Linked DNA regions of Homo sapiens: region 1 is linked to region 2. Evidence: promoter capture Hi-C in 16 types of primary human blood cells and fetal thymus (Javierre and others, 2016). All regions are on one chromosome and are shown on one strand. The core of a region is centred on a gene start or on the middle of the fragment in contact, and the rest is flanking DNA. Distances in the headings are between cores, read along the strand shown. Region 1 has its middle 5.4 kb from the start of SMIM42. Region 2 holds the start of FCRL5 (Fc receptor like 5).

The links. Contacts are between HindIII fragments. The CHiCAGO score rates a contact against its expected background, and 5 or more counts as called.
Region 1: a contact is called between a fragment that was not itself captured here and the fragment with the promoter of FCRL5 in region 2, in 4 of 17 cell types (activated CD4 T cells, non-activated CD4 T cells, total CD4 T cells and 1 more). The highest score is 7.1, in activated CD4 T cells.

What each region holds. Positions count from the first base shown.
Region 1 is chr1:158,119,531-158,126,323 of GRCh38, forward strand. No RefSeq gene overlaps it. Among named protein-coding and RNA genes, the nearest start is that of SMIM42, 5.4 kb to the right of the region's middle. RefSeq lists a silencer at 5,550-5,719. The HindIII fragment of the contact is 6,638 bases long and covers 1-5,642 here.
Region 2 is chr1:157,548,409-157,555,772 of GRCh38, forward strand. It overlaps FCRL5 (Fc receptor like 5), which reads right to left and starts at 4,107. Exons shown (of 17, transcript NM_031281.3): 1 at 3,924-4,107; 2 at 1,152-1,172. The coding sequence starts at 3,954. The HindIII fragment of the contact is 25,493 bases long and covers 1-7,364 here.

The DNA.
Region 1 (6,793 bases), core at 1,074-3,573, 570 kb after region 2:
TCCAAGTTGTGATGAGTATAAACAATATTTCAAGAGACTACAACAACTGATAGAATATGGAAACATTTTGATTTCTATTAGTGACAGAGACACAGGTATTGCTAATACTATTGGGGCTTGTAATAAACATCTACTAAGTTCACTCAGAGGTTAGTGAAAATCTAGTCATCCTCCCATCCAAGTACTAAGAACCCTCAAAACGTATCCATGGATCCCAGGTTAAGAGTAGAAGTAACTGGTTGAAATCCATGTTAATGTAAATTTTTAAAGTACAAGCTAGAGGTATTTTTTAAAGGAATAGATAATTGGGGAGATCAAGTAAAGCCTTTCTTCAGACAGAGGGGATTTGACAGTATGAGTGCCTACCTTTTGCTTTGTTCTACCCCAAAGAGATTTTTGGAATATACAGGGCATTTTTATGGACCTGGGACCATTTTTATGGACCAGGCTGGTGAACTGTTCAAGAGCCCTAAGGGGTAAGCATTGGAAGCAGGGCTCAAACCCTTCAGTGCCCCTGACCCCGATCCTCTGTGAGCTCTGCCTCCCTGGGCAGGGTGTCTCAGGTCCCCCTCTTCCTCTGCCCACACGGTTGAGCCCTGCTCCCCTACTCCTGCACGCTGTGCGGTTCCTCCTGTGTGGCTCACTGTGACACAGCTGTGAGGAAACCTTGCTTGAGATATTTGTCTGGGTGGCAGTGGGGAGCCAGCCTCAGAGGAGCTGTGGCAGCCCCTTCAAGCTGCAGAGAAAGGCAGGGTTACCATTCATTTGGGACCAAAAAAACAGTGGCATTTACTGGGGATGAGGGAGTGGGGGTCAGAGGCCCTCTTGGTTCTCCTCTGGCAGATTGGGTAAATTGGGTTGAACAAAGCCACTCCCGCAGTTCAGCACCTGCTGCCTTCCAGCTGTGCTTCCAGTGACCAGAGCTGCCCACATGATCTCACTGGGAATTGAGGTGGTGTCTTCTGGGGTCAGACAGTGGAAAGAATGCAAACCTTAGACTCAGCAGATCTGGCTGCACCTCTGACTTGCTTTGAAACCTTCAGCAGGTTACTTTACTTCTCTCAGCCTGTTCTTGTAGAAAGAAGACTAGCTTCCTCTCAGTATTCTTAGGAGGACTTGGGATAATGTAGGTAAAATCATTTTTAAACTCTAAAGTGTTAAATAGGCACTCATTAACAGGAAAGTACAATTTTTCCCAAATCACATTTGTATGGCTGTCTTCTAGAACCATTTCACTCAGATTGAGCATTAATTGAATCAAGGAGACCAACTAAACTCCAAGGAACATGCTCTTGCTAAATCACTGCTCCTTTCTGAACCCAAGCCAGGCATATTGTTTTTTCTGCATATATTAAAAAGGATCTACCGATGTATGAAAAGGATGTAACTATTTAGCTTTTGCTGCCTGAGACAGTTACAGTAAGAAATACTGAAGGGCACTTTAGACTTCACAAAGATCCTTTCTGTCTCTTTCCTTAGCTCCTTACAATCCTATGAGATGTGTGTATTTCTTTTTTCCTCTCCATTTTACACAGGAGGAAACTGAAGCTCACTTACACAGGGAATTAGTGACCAGGTCAGTCTAGGAGTCCATCTTCTGACTCCTTCCAGTATCTAATTAGAATTAAGACAGACTCATTCGGCTGGGGGGCGTTGGCTCATGCCTGTAATCCCAGCACTTTGGGAGGCCGAGGCGGGTGGATCACTTGAGGTTAGGAGTTTGAGACCAGCCTGGCCAACATGGTGAAACCCTGTCTCTACCAAAAATGCCAAAAATTAGCCTGGCATGGTAGCACATGCCTGTAATCCCAGCTACTCAAGAGTCTGAGGCAGGAGAATCGCTTGAACCCGGGAGGTAAATGTTGCAGTGAGCCGAGATCGCACCACTGCACTTCAGCCTGGGCAACAGAACGAGACTCCATCTCAAAAAAAAAAAAAAAAAAAAAAAAAAGACAGCCTCATTCGGGAGATTCGGGGGGTGGAGGTAGCAGTGTTTAAAAAAAAAAAAGCCTAGGCAGGCATTACAATATGAAAATCATTCTTGCTTAAAGGAAGACTGGTAACTGGGACTCTGCATGGATGTGTCCCCTATTCCCCTATTCTTGGTGTTTATCATCCCCATGGCCGGGTCAGCTGCCCCTGTTTACTCATGGTTGGAAAATGTCACAGCTCCTAAAACAGCTGTTTAAGGGACACATCATCTGAAGCGACTTTTCCTGTTCTGGAAGTGCCCATTTTAAGAGCTTAATTTGGTTTTTGTCCTGAGCCCACTCTGCTGTTCTATTTGTGTGGGGTTTCTGCCCTCAGGTGGTGAGAGAGGTGAGCTACAGGTGCGCTAACAGGTTCTGGGAACTCAGCTGTTGCCGATGGGCACCTTACTGTGATGTGTCTAGTTGGACTTGTCACTCACTGTGTGGTGCTCTTGACACAGGGGTCTTCCCCAGGTACAGATGGGACCTTGTGTACCCAGATCTTGGCTTCCGGCAGGAAAGCATCTTTGTACTCCACAAAGTTTTGTTTCCCAGACACTAGATCTTGACTGAATGCCAGAGAAAGCCAAGAACTGCTCTGAGCTGATGTTGGAGAAAGCAGTGTTTCAAAAACCTTGCCTAGGCATTTTATATGAGGTGTCTTTTTAAAGCCTCAACTATCCTGTGAAGTAAGTGTTGTGTCCATTTTACAGATAGAGATGGATAAGATAAGGAAATTTAAACTAAAGAGTTTAAATCAGTGGTTCTCAAACTTTTTAAGTCTGCCTTTACAATCTTAAAAATTATGGAGGATCCCAGGCCAGGCGTGGTGGCTTACGCCTGTAATCACAGCACTTTGGGAGGCTGGGCGGGTGGATCATGAGGTCAGGAGTTCGAGACCAGCCTGTCCAATATGGTGAAACCTCGTCTCTACTAAAAAATACAAAAATTAGCCAGGCGTGGTGGCACGCACCTGTGGTCCCAGCTACTTGGGAGGCTGAGGCAGGAGAATCACTTGAACCCAGGAGGCAGAGGTTGCAGTGAGCTGAGATCACGCCACTGCACTCCAGCCTGGGCAACAGAGTGATACTCCATCTCAAAAAAAAAAAAAAAAATTATGGAGGACCCCAAGGAACTTCAGTTTGTTAGAAACTAACACTAAACTTTTAAAAAATACTTATTTTATGTAAAAATAACTATGATAAACTTATTATATATTAACAGAAATAACATATTTGGAAAGAAGAATAACAGTGTTTTACATGTTTGCAAATCTCTTTAAAATGCAACATGTAGTCTTTCAAAAGCTCTTCTGTACACTCATGAAAGAGAGTGAAAAACATATTAATATTTTTATTAAAATAGTTTCCATTTCATGGATCCCTTGAAAGGGTCTTGGGGTATCCTTAGGGATCCCAGAACCATACATTGAGAACCACTGGCTTAGGTAATTTGCTGTGGATGCACAGCTGGTATGAATGAAGGGTGGAGCCAGCATTCCACTCCCAGTTTCTCTGAAACACACCTCCACACTCAGGCCTCCCCCACTTACCCCTGGGCACCAGAGGCCTGTGTAAAGTGAGAGTGAAGTTCCGGGTGGGCCAAGGAGCTTCTGGCTCTGGCACTCCATGAGTCTGTCTGGATGATGGCAGCTCTGGGCAGTGCTGATTCTATGGCTGCTGCCCCTGCCCACTTAGGGAATCCACAGTTTTTGAGCTTCAGTGGGCTGGAACAGTTAGAGAGCATCTCTCAATCGCTTGAGAAGACAGCTCTGTGACTCCCAAACTTTTCTAGGTTTCTCACCCCACCCCCAATTTGTGGCATCACCTGTTTCAGCTACTGACCCAGCCAGCTGATGCTCCAAGTTAGGAAGATGGGAGTCAGCAAAGGTCCTTATTGGTATCGCCTGCTTTTTGACAAAGTTCTGAAGATGGACCCCTTTGAATTCAACTTCTACCTCTCCACACACACTCTTAAAAAACTGTTGAACAGGCTGGGCGCCATGTCTCATTCTTGTAATCCCAGCACTTTGGGGGACAAGGTGGGTGGATCTCCTGAGATCAGGAGTTCAAGACCAGCCTGGCCAACATGGCAAAACCCCATCTGTACTAAAAATACAAAAATTAACCAGGCGTTTTGGTGCACGCCTGTAATCCCAGCTACTTGGGAGGCTGAGGCATTAGAATCACTGGAACCCAGGAGGCGGAGGTTGCGTGAGCCCAGATGGCACCACTGTACTCCAGCCCGGGCAACAGAGTGAGACTCTGTCTCAAAAAACAAAAACAAAACAAAACAAAAAACAAAAAACTGAGCAGAGAAATATTTACAAAAGGGCAGTTCAGGTGGAAAATATAAACAGGCAAAGTCAGAGAAACAGGAAAGAACCAGGAACTATGGAACATTTTATGATAAAACTATAGCATTTTAACTTATCTTCTTGACTTAATTTCTCCCTATTTCTTACCAAAGGGTAATTAGGGAACTTTGGAAAGTTTTTGATAAAACTTTGGAAACCTTTATGATAAAACTATAGCATTGTAGCCTATCTTCTTAATTTTTCCCTATTCCTATTCATCAACCATGCCAGATTAACCTTGAGTGTTTATTTCATGTGTCACTTTCCTTCCCTGGCTCCCTCTAGCTTGAAATTGAACACCTTAGCCTGATATTCAAGGTCTCTACCATAGGCGAGTGCTATTTTCTCACCTGACTCCCCATTGTTTCCCTGCATGCGTCATGCAGCTGGCTCACTGCCCCCCTGTCATGCCTCATGAATTCCCTTCCACTCTTAAGTCTATGCTAGCTGTTTCCCTAACATTGCAGCTGCTTCTGGATGCTTTCCCTAGCCCACAAGGACCCTTCAGGCTTTAGAATGCCAACACCCCATCCTTGGCCTGTCTCAGAAACCACCTGTGGCTGCTGTTAGTCCAAGGGAAGCCCTTAGCCACATCTGGAACTAAAGCTCCTCAAAGAAGGGATTAACATCTCATTGCTCTTCACCACCTTCTCTCTGCCACCCATTGCTCACTGGCTGCTTTATGATGGTCAGTGCTTGTTGACTTGATGCCTACAGGTGCAGGAGCTGGAGCTGCCGACAGACCTCTTGGAGGGTGTTGGAGAAAAGCCATAGGAGGTAAGGGAGGCAGACACAAGGCACCCCTGGCAGAGCATCTCCCTAAAGAGAATACTATAAATTAATGCCAGCAGCATTTTAGAGCAAAATGATTTCTGATAGAGAAAGAAGAGCTTCCTCGAAGCTGAAAATGTCTTATTCCATGATGAATGCAGGGAGCAGCATGGGAGAGGAAAAGAATTCAGGCTCTGCTATGAGCCTTTGAACAGATAACCAGCCTCCCTGATGCTCCGAGCCTCAATTTTCCTTGTATAGGAGGGATAATGCCCTTTTCACAGCATAGCTAGGTAGCAAAAAGATACCATATGTTAAGAACCAGTGTATAATTGATGCTCAATATATAACACATGTTTTTAAAATTCTGAAATTTCCAACCCTGGAGAACTTCTGGAAAAGAGATTCCCATTATTGTGGATGACTTGATTATAGGCCTTTATGGAGGTGGAGGGAGGGACTGACTATCCAGCTGAGTCCCTTTGCCTTTGCGGGTGCTACAAGGACCAGGTTTGCTGATGTTTTGCTGCCATCTGATGGCCATAAGCTTACAGTGCAGCCTGGCCGGTTTGTCCTTAAGTCTGAATAATAGAAACAGAAGAATGTAGGCGGGGCTTGAGGAGTTTGGGGAGTAACTAAATCCTGGAGGATGGAAGGAAATGGCTTTGAGTTCCATGGGAGGAGGGGAACTTTGAGTCTCTGGGAAGTGTGAAACAATCTGGGCCAGGAGTCTTTTTTTTTGTTTTGTTTTTGTTTTTGTTTGAGACGGAGTCTTGCTCTGTTGCCAGGCTGGAGTGCAGCGGTGCGATTTCGGCTCACTGCAACCTCCGCCTCCCGGGTTCAAGAGATTCTCCTGCCTCAGCCTCCAGAGTAGCTGGGATTACAGGCATGCACCACCACGCCCAGCTAATTTTTGTATTTTTAGTAGAGACTGGGTTTCACCATGTTGGCCAGGATGGTCTCAATCTCCTGACCTCATGATCCACCCACCTCGGCCTCCCAGAGTGCTGGGATTACAGGCATGAGCCACCGCGCCCGCCTGGCCAGGAGTCTTTTAATACATGCACCTAACTAGTAAGTGCAGAAATGCACCAGCTGGAAGGAGCCTTAGAGATCTATCCCCATCCCCCCTCCACAGCTCAGTCACCAGTGATTACTGCCCACCAGGGTTCTGTGAGATACAGTCCCACCTATGTCTCCAGCCTCATAATGCTTTATTTTTGTGTTCAATTTCTGTGTTCCAGAACTGCTGACCATCTTTCTATCCCATTGACTGCTCCCTTCACAGGCCTTGGCCGGTGCTGTCTCTCTATCCGGGGGGCCTGGCCCTTCTTTTGCCCCTCACCTGTTTCTCATTCACTCACCCTTCAGTTCTCAGCCCAAGCATTACTTCCTCAGGTAAACTTTCTCTGTCTAGGTCAGATTCCTTTCATATATACTCTCATAAAGCCAGATTCCTTTTTCAGAGCACTTTTCTCCATTTATAATTAAAAAATCATGTATGCGGTTATTTCGTTAACATCTGTCTCTCTCACTGTGCTGTATGGGCTCTAGGAGAGAGAAGATGGGCACCTTTCTGCTATTCTTGTATCCCAGCATCCAGGACAGGGTCTGGTACACAGTGAGAGCTCAGTAAATATCTGCTGGGTGAATAGAGGCATCTGCATGATAGGAAAGAAAGATTTGAAGAGTGTTA
Region 2 (7,364 bases), core at 2,857-5,356:
GCAACAAAAGCCAAAATTGACAAATGGGATCTAATTAAACTAAAGAACTTCTGCACAGCAAAAGAAACTACCATCAGAGTGAACAGGCAACCTACAGAATGGGAGAAAAGTTTTGCAATCTACTCATTTGACAAAGGGCTAATATCCAGAATCTACAATGAACTCAAACAAATTTACAAGAAAAATTCAAACAACCCCATCAAAAAGTGGGTGAAGGATATGAACAGACACTTCTCAAAAGAAGACATTTATGCAGCCAAAAGACACATGAGAAAATGCTCATCATCACTGGCCATCAGAGAAATGCAAATCAAAACCACAATGAGATACCATATCACACCAGTTAGAATGGCAATTATTAAAAAGTCAGGAAACAACAGGTGCTGGAGAGGATGTGGAGAAATAGGAACACTTTTACACTGTTGGTGGGAGTGTAAACTAGTTCAACCATTGTGGAAGTCAGTGTGGCGATTCCTCAGGGATCTAGAAGCAGAAATACCATTTGACCCAGCCATCCCATTACCAGGTATATAACCAATGGACTACAAATCATGCTGCTATAAAGGCACATGCACACGTATGTTTACTGCGGCACTATTCACAGTAGCAAAGACTTGGAACCAACCCAAATGTCCAACAATGATAGACTGGATCAAGGAAATGTGGCACATATACACCATGGAATACTATGCAGCCATAAAAAATGATGAGTTCATGTCCTTTGTAGGGACATGGATGAAGCTGGAAACTGTCATTCTCAGCAAACTATTGCAAGGACAAAAAACCAAACACCGCATGTTCTCACTCATAGGTGGGAATTGAACAATGAGAACACTTGGACACAGGAAGGGGAACATCACACTCCAGGGCCTGTTGTGGGGTGGGGGGAGGGGGGAGGGATAGCATTAGGAGATATACCTAATGTTAAATGACGAGTTAGTGGGTGCAGCGCACCAACATGGCACATGTATACATATATAACAAACCTGCACGTTGTGCACATGTACCCTAAAACTTAAAGTATAATAAAAAAAAGGAAAGAAAACAGGAGATATTGGAGATCTCAGGCAGCCATCACAAATGTTTTCTATTTATTAGGAAGAGACACTCTTAACCAGAGACGCTGAAGAGCCAAAGACAGGAGAACTCACCAAACTGTCCACTGACAGGAGCTGCAAAAAAATAAGAGCCAGAGATGAGCACAGAACCATGATTATTTTGTTTTAAGAAGATAATTCCCTTTTTTACCCATGCATGTATTACTTGTCCCTTTAAAAAATTCATTTAAAAACTCTAATAATTATTCATCAAATGTATATATATACACATAAATATACATATATATACATATATATATGGCATGGTATTTGGACTTCTACAATGAATTTTAAAAATGGTATCTGCCATCAAGAAGTTGACTAGTGGAAAAACAGAAACACGATTTAAAATAATATAACACAGGGTGTAAGTGCAATAACAGAAATACACATGGGGTATGTTGGGGGCAGAAGGGCCACTAGCCCAGTGTGTAGGATATATGTGTGTGTGTAGAGTGTGTGTTTGTGTGTACATGTGTTGAACAGGATGGGTGGATCCTTGAAGGTACCTGAAGGAGATGATACTTCACAAAACTGTGAGTGAGAACATGAGTCTGCAGGTGGATGTTAGCATTTGTGTGTGGTAAGAGGCGATTTCTACCTTTCAAGGTAGAAAGGGCACAGAAGTGGAGAAATGACATTGGTGCTCAGGAACTGGGAGTGTTGGGGGAAATAAGACCAGAGAAGCATGCAGGGCCTGAGTAAGTGGTTCTAATTTTATTATAAAAGTGATAAGGAGTCATGGAATGGTTTCAAGGAGGAGATTGACAAGGTTAGAATTTCAGACTTTGATGGAGCACTCTGTCAGTGGACAGAATTTAATGGGACAATATGAAGCAGGGAGACTGATTAGAAGGCAGGGCAAGGAAATGGACATGAATTAAGCCTCCCTTGGGCACCAGACTCCAGGCTATACTCTTTTCATGAGATCATTGAATCCAAGGGCTCATTATCATCATGCCTAATTTTTAAACAATCAACTGATGCTCAGATTATTTAGACCTGATGCTCAGCCCAAGAGATGGTAATGTGTAATTTTTGTCAGAGTATTTATCCAAATTATCTTCATTATCTGCTTGTTTATTTTCCCTTCTCTATAATGCAAGCTCTATGAGACCTAGGACTTTCCTTATGTTCACCATATATCCTCCAGGACCTATAACGGTGAATGGCATATAAAAGATATTCCTTTAATGTTCACTAAATATATTTGTGTTGTATAATGAATTAATTAAAGAACTAGGTTAATAATATAGGAATAGAAGGATAGAGATTTGAGAAATGGGTAATGAAGAGAGAGAGGACACAAAACTGGCAGGTTTATCAATTGAGTAGGTATTCTGCATATGGGTTGATTTATTTATTCAACAGATTTTTGGAATGCCAATCATACTCCAGAGCAAGGCAATAGAAATCCAGGAGTGTGTGAGAGACAAATCATCCCTGTCCACATGAGGCTATTGGAGACTTATCCAAACTTAAGTGTTTTACTGAGAACAACAAATTATTCACCATTCACCTGAATATTTTGGCTTCCTTCATCTTTGCATTGTTTTAAATGAAGCTAATATTTTTGTGAGTGGTTTCTATATGGTCTGCATTTACGTAGGTTATTTCATATAACCATGTCAATAATCCTGTGAGGTAAGCACTAGGATTAACTGCATTTTGTAGACCAGGAATCTGGTAGCCAGTAGGTGGCAAGATGAAGTTTGAACCTAGATCCTGTTTGACCCCAGAGCCCATGTTATAAACTTTGCCCTCTCATGCTCAGGACCTGGCCATTACCCACATTGTGTGGGGCCACACTGAGATGTATTCCTACTTCAGGAATTATAGTCCATGCACCTTCCAACTGTGAGGTCCTCTTTTCTTATATCACGCCTGCTCCATTTCTGCTCCTCTAGCTCCTACTCACCTCTAAGTTTCATGAAGTCTTTACTAGCTATTTTGAATACAGTTTATTATCTGCCTACAGCATTCATTGGTAACTTTGCCTGGACAATTATTTAACTGGGAGCTTGTTGCATAGCTGCTTGAAAGTACATTGGCCTTGCTGGGAGCCCTTCTATGTCATGACTTTCCAGAACATAGACGTAGTGTCTCCTATGGACTCTAATTGCTCAGCACCTGTGCATAGATATTACTAAACACATTTGCTGAACAAATAAATAAACATATTTAATTATAATATTTAACCTTTAGTAAAAATCAACCAGTTCGCACATATGAGTTGATAGAGACTTACGTACACCCACAGGGACAAAGAGAAAGTCATATGCTTTAGATTTATCCTTGCTTTGTCCACCTACGCCTCTGCGACCTCCTCCACCCCATGTTCTTAATCAGCCAATTGCTGCAGTGGTTTGCAATTATGTACAAGAGAAAGACCTGTCTTTCCCGTTAGAAACCTTGCCTCTTATGCTGGGGACCAGGATCTGGCCTTGTCATACAAGGAATAAATACATCTCCTCTGCAGAGAGGAGAGTGGGCTCTTCTATGAGTAAGACAATATGAACAAACAAACATGAAACATTCTCTGGACTTTAAGAAGTACTTTTTAAAGAAAAAAATAAATGAAATTTTAATTGTTGTGGTTATTGTGGTTTCCTACTCTGTAAGATTGAAAATTCCTTCCAGCTGTGGCCATTTTCTTCAGCCTCAAGAGAAAGCCCTGAGCTACAGAGTAAAGTTCAAAAATACAGTCTCCTAATGTAGGAGAGAGTCTCTCAGCAGGGGCTGAGCCCCAAGAAAGGACCAGGCCTGCGGTGGAGAGAGAAGCTGTCCCGATCCCACCCAGGGCCCATGGTGAGCCCTTTTACTCACCCAGGACCAGTAATATCACCCACAGCAGCATGAAGACCTGGACCACCAAGGGCTGAGATCAAAAGAGAAGTTTCCTCAATTCCAAAACAGGTTTGGACTTGATCTTACAGTCAGGACACTGCACACCAGCTCCAAGGAGCACATCTGAGAAGCTGTGCTCTCAAAAAGAGCAGAATGCATTAGTGAATTGAAAAAAGGAAGTGGGAGTACCCGTCTTCAGCTGCTAATCACAGTTTCCTACCCGATGATCAAAGAAAAAAAAAAGTTAAGGTTTTAAAAAATCAAATACCCTTGACCCTACATTTTTGCTATTGGGAAATTACCCTGAAGGAAGTATCTGAAGAGAGTACTATAAGAACGTTTATTGTAGCATTCATTATTGCCTAAACACTGGAAACAAAACAAAAAACCATGATATGGGGACTGTTTAAGAATATTCTGATTCATCCGTATGGTGACAAGCAATCATTAAAGAATAAGGTAAATCTGAACATGCCAAGAAGGGAAGACCACCTTGTTTGATGTGAAGAGAATAAAAGTGAGATATAGATTGGTTTTGTAGTATTATCCCATTGGGTAAATATAAAAAATAGGATATATGTGTACATCAACTCTTTTAAGTATACTTTCTTCTTTTCCTGGAAAGTACACACAAAAATATTGATTATGTTTGAGGAGCAATAGGTGGGAAGAACACAATTTATTTTATGTATTTCTGTACCGTTTGATTTTTTAAAAAATTACCAGGTGAATGTATAGCTCTTATGATTTTCTAAAAGTCAAGTTTCCATCCTGGTATACTGGTCAACAGAGGTTCCTAAGACATTAGCTGCCACGAGGAGTGCCAGTTTCTTTCTTTCAAATATTTTCTCACCCTTTCTCTCTGGGCCCATACCTTGGTCTTCCTAAGGGGGCATTTAATTTTATATCTACAAATGCACATCACCTTAGGTATATTATGTCACATCTGACCCACTGCACCCTGAGGCAAGAAAACCATACAGGGGTTACAGGGGTGAATAGAGATTAAGAGGAGAACTTCAAAGGGAACACAGAATCTTTACCTACTTTTGGTGCTAAAACAAATAGTGCTGCTATGAACATTCTTGTATACATTTATTGGGGCATATGCGCACATAATTCTGTTGGGTATATATCTGGGAGTGGAAGTCCTGGCTCATAAGGTATGCATATATTCAGTTTAGGAAGTATTACCAAATTATTTTCCAAAGTGGTTGTGCCAATTCCCACCACACCCACCAACCAATGTATGAGAGTTATCATTGTTCTAAAATTCTTGCTGATATTGGTATTGTCATCTAGTAAAATCTGGCCGTTCTGCTAGAATTATCTCAATGTGGTTTTAATTTGTATGTCTCTGGTGAATTTGAGAATGAGCATTTTTTCATAGTCTAATTGGTGATGTAGATATCCTTTTTATGTGCAATCTCTGTTCAAATATTTCCTCATTTTTCTCTTAACTTTCAGTCTTTCTTTTCCTGTTTTGTAGTTATTTTAAACCCTGAATATAAACCTTTTGTTGGATATATGTATTGCAAATGTCTTCCTTCAATCTGTGGCTTGCTTCTTTGCTCATTGATAGTGCCTTTTGATGAACAACCATTCTAACTTTGACATAGTCCAGTTTATCAGTCTTCTCCTTTGTGGTTAGAGATTTTTGCATCCCTTCTAAGAAAGTTAGTCTACTCCAAGATCATAAAGATACTCTCCCAGGTTATCTTCTAGAAACTTTATTTTTTACCATTTATTTTATATTTATAAGAGCATTGCAATTGATTTTTGTGTACAGTTTGAGTGTTTATATTCACTTTTAACTTAAATACAGATAATTTATCCTGCCCTATTTATTGAAAGTTGATTTTTTCCACAGTACAGTGCAATTTCACCTTTGTTATAAAACAAAAAGCCATGTAGGTCTATTTTTGGAAACTCCTTTCTTGTCCATTAGTCTATTTTGTCTATCCTCATGCCAATACCACACTCTTCTAATTATTGTGGCTTTATAATAACTCTTATTAACTGATAGTTTAAGTCATAAAATGCTGTTCTTCTTCAAAATTGTTATGGCTATTTTTGGCTTTTTGAATTTTTCTATACATTTAAAAATCACCTTGTCAATTCCTGTCCCCTCTCTCCCCAAAAGCCTAGTAGATTTTTAATAACTGGGATTGCATTGGATTTATAAGTTAATTTGTATAAATTAGAAAAGATTTAGTCTCCCAATCCATAAACATACAATATCCCCTCATTTATTTAGGTTAACTTGACATTCTTTCAGTAATTTTCTATAGCTTTGCCTCTGGAAAGTATATCTTTTGGTAGGTTTATCCTTAGGTTATTGATATGTTTTTTATGATATTGTAAGTGACATCATTAGATTTTTTTCTAAATGTATATTGGTATATAGAAATATAATACTTTTTTGTTTTACTGACCATTATTTTTATTTTTTTGAGACAGAGTTTTGCTCTTGTCCCCCAGGCTGGAGTGCACTGGTGCGATCTTGGCTCATTGCAACCTCCACCTCCCAGGTTCAAGCGATTCTCCTGCCTTAGCGTCCCAAGTAGCTGGGATTATAGGTGTCTGCCACCATGCCCAGCTAATTTTTGTATTTTTAGTAGAGATGAGGTTTCACCATGTTGGCCAGGCTGGTCTCAAACTCCTGACCTCAAGTTATCTGCCCGCCTTGGCCTCCAAAAGTGCTAGGATTACAAGCGTGAGCCACCATGCCCGGCCTTACTGACCTTTTAATATCTACTAAAATTGCGGAATTTACTTATTAATTTTAATAGTTTATCTTTAGGTTATTTTAGATTTCATGCAAACACAATCATATAATGATAGTTTTATTCATTATTTTTAATACTTAAACTTCCTTTTCTCTCACTTATTGCACTGACTAGGAACTCAAACATGATACTAAAGAGAAGTGGTAATATCAGGTGTCCTGTCTTAGTCTCACAGAAAAAGCTCTTAATATTTCAATATTAAATATAATATTTTCTGTAATTTTTTTTGGTGAATACTATGTATCAGATTAAATACCTTTCCTTATATTTCTAATTTGCTAAGAAATTTTCCTTTTTTCCTAAATAATGGATGCTGTTTCAGTAAATACCTTTATTGCCTCTATTAATATGATCATATGATTATTTACTTTTATTGTTAATATGATGAATTACATGGATGATTATAAATGTAAAATCAACTGTGCATTCCAACTTGGCCATGATGTGTTATCTTTTTTATATATTCTTGAATTTGACTTATAAATTTGCTGTGCTTTTTAGCATTTGTGTTCATGAGGAAGATGGACCAATTTTCTTTCTTGATGAATTTTAGTAACAAAATTATATTGGTCTCATAAGCAAGCTCCTTCTTTTTCTATTTTCGTGAAGAGTTTGTGTACGACTGATGTTA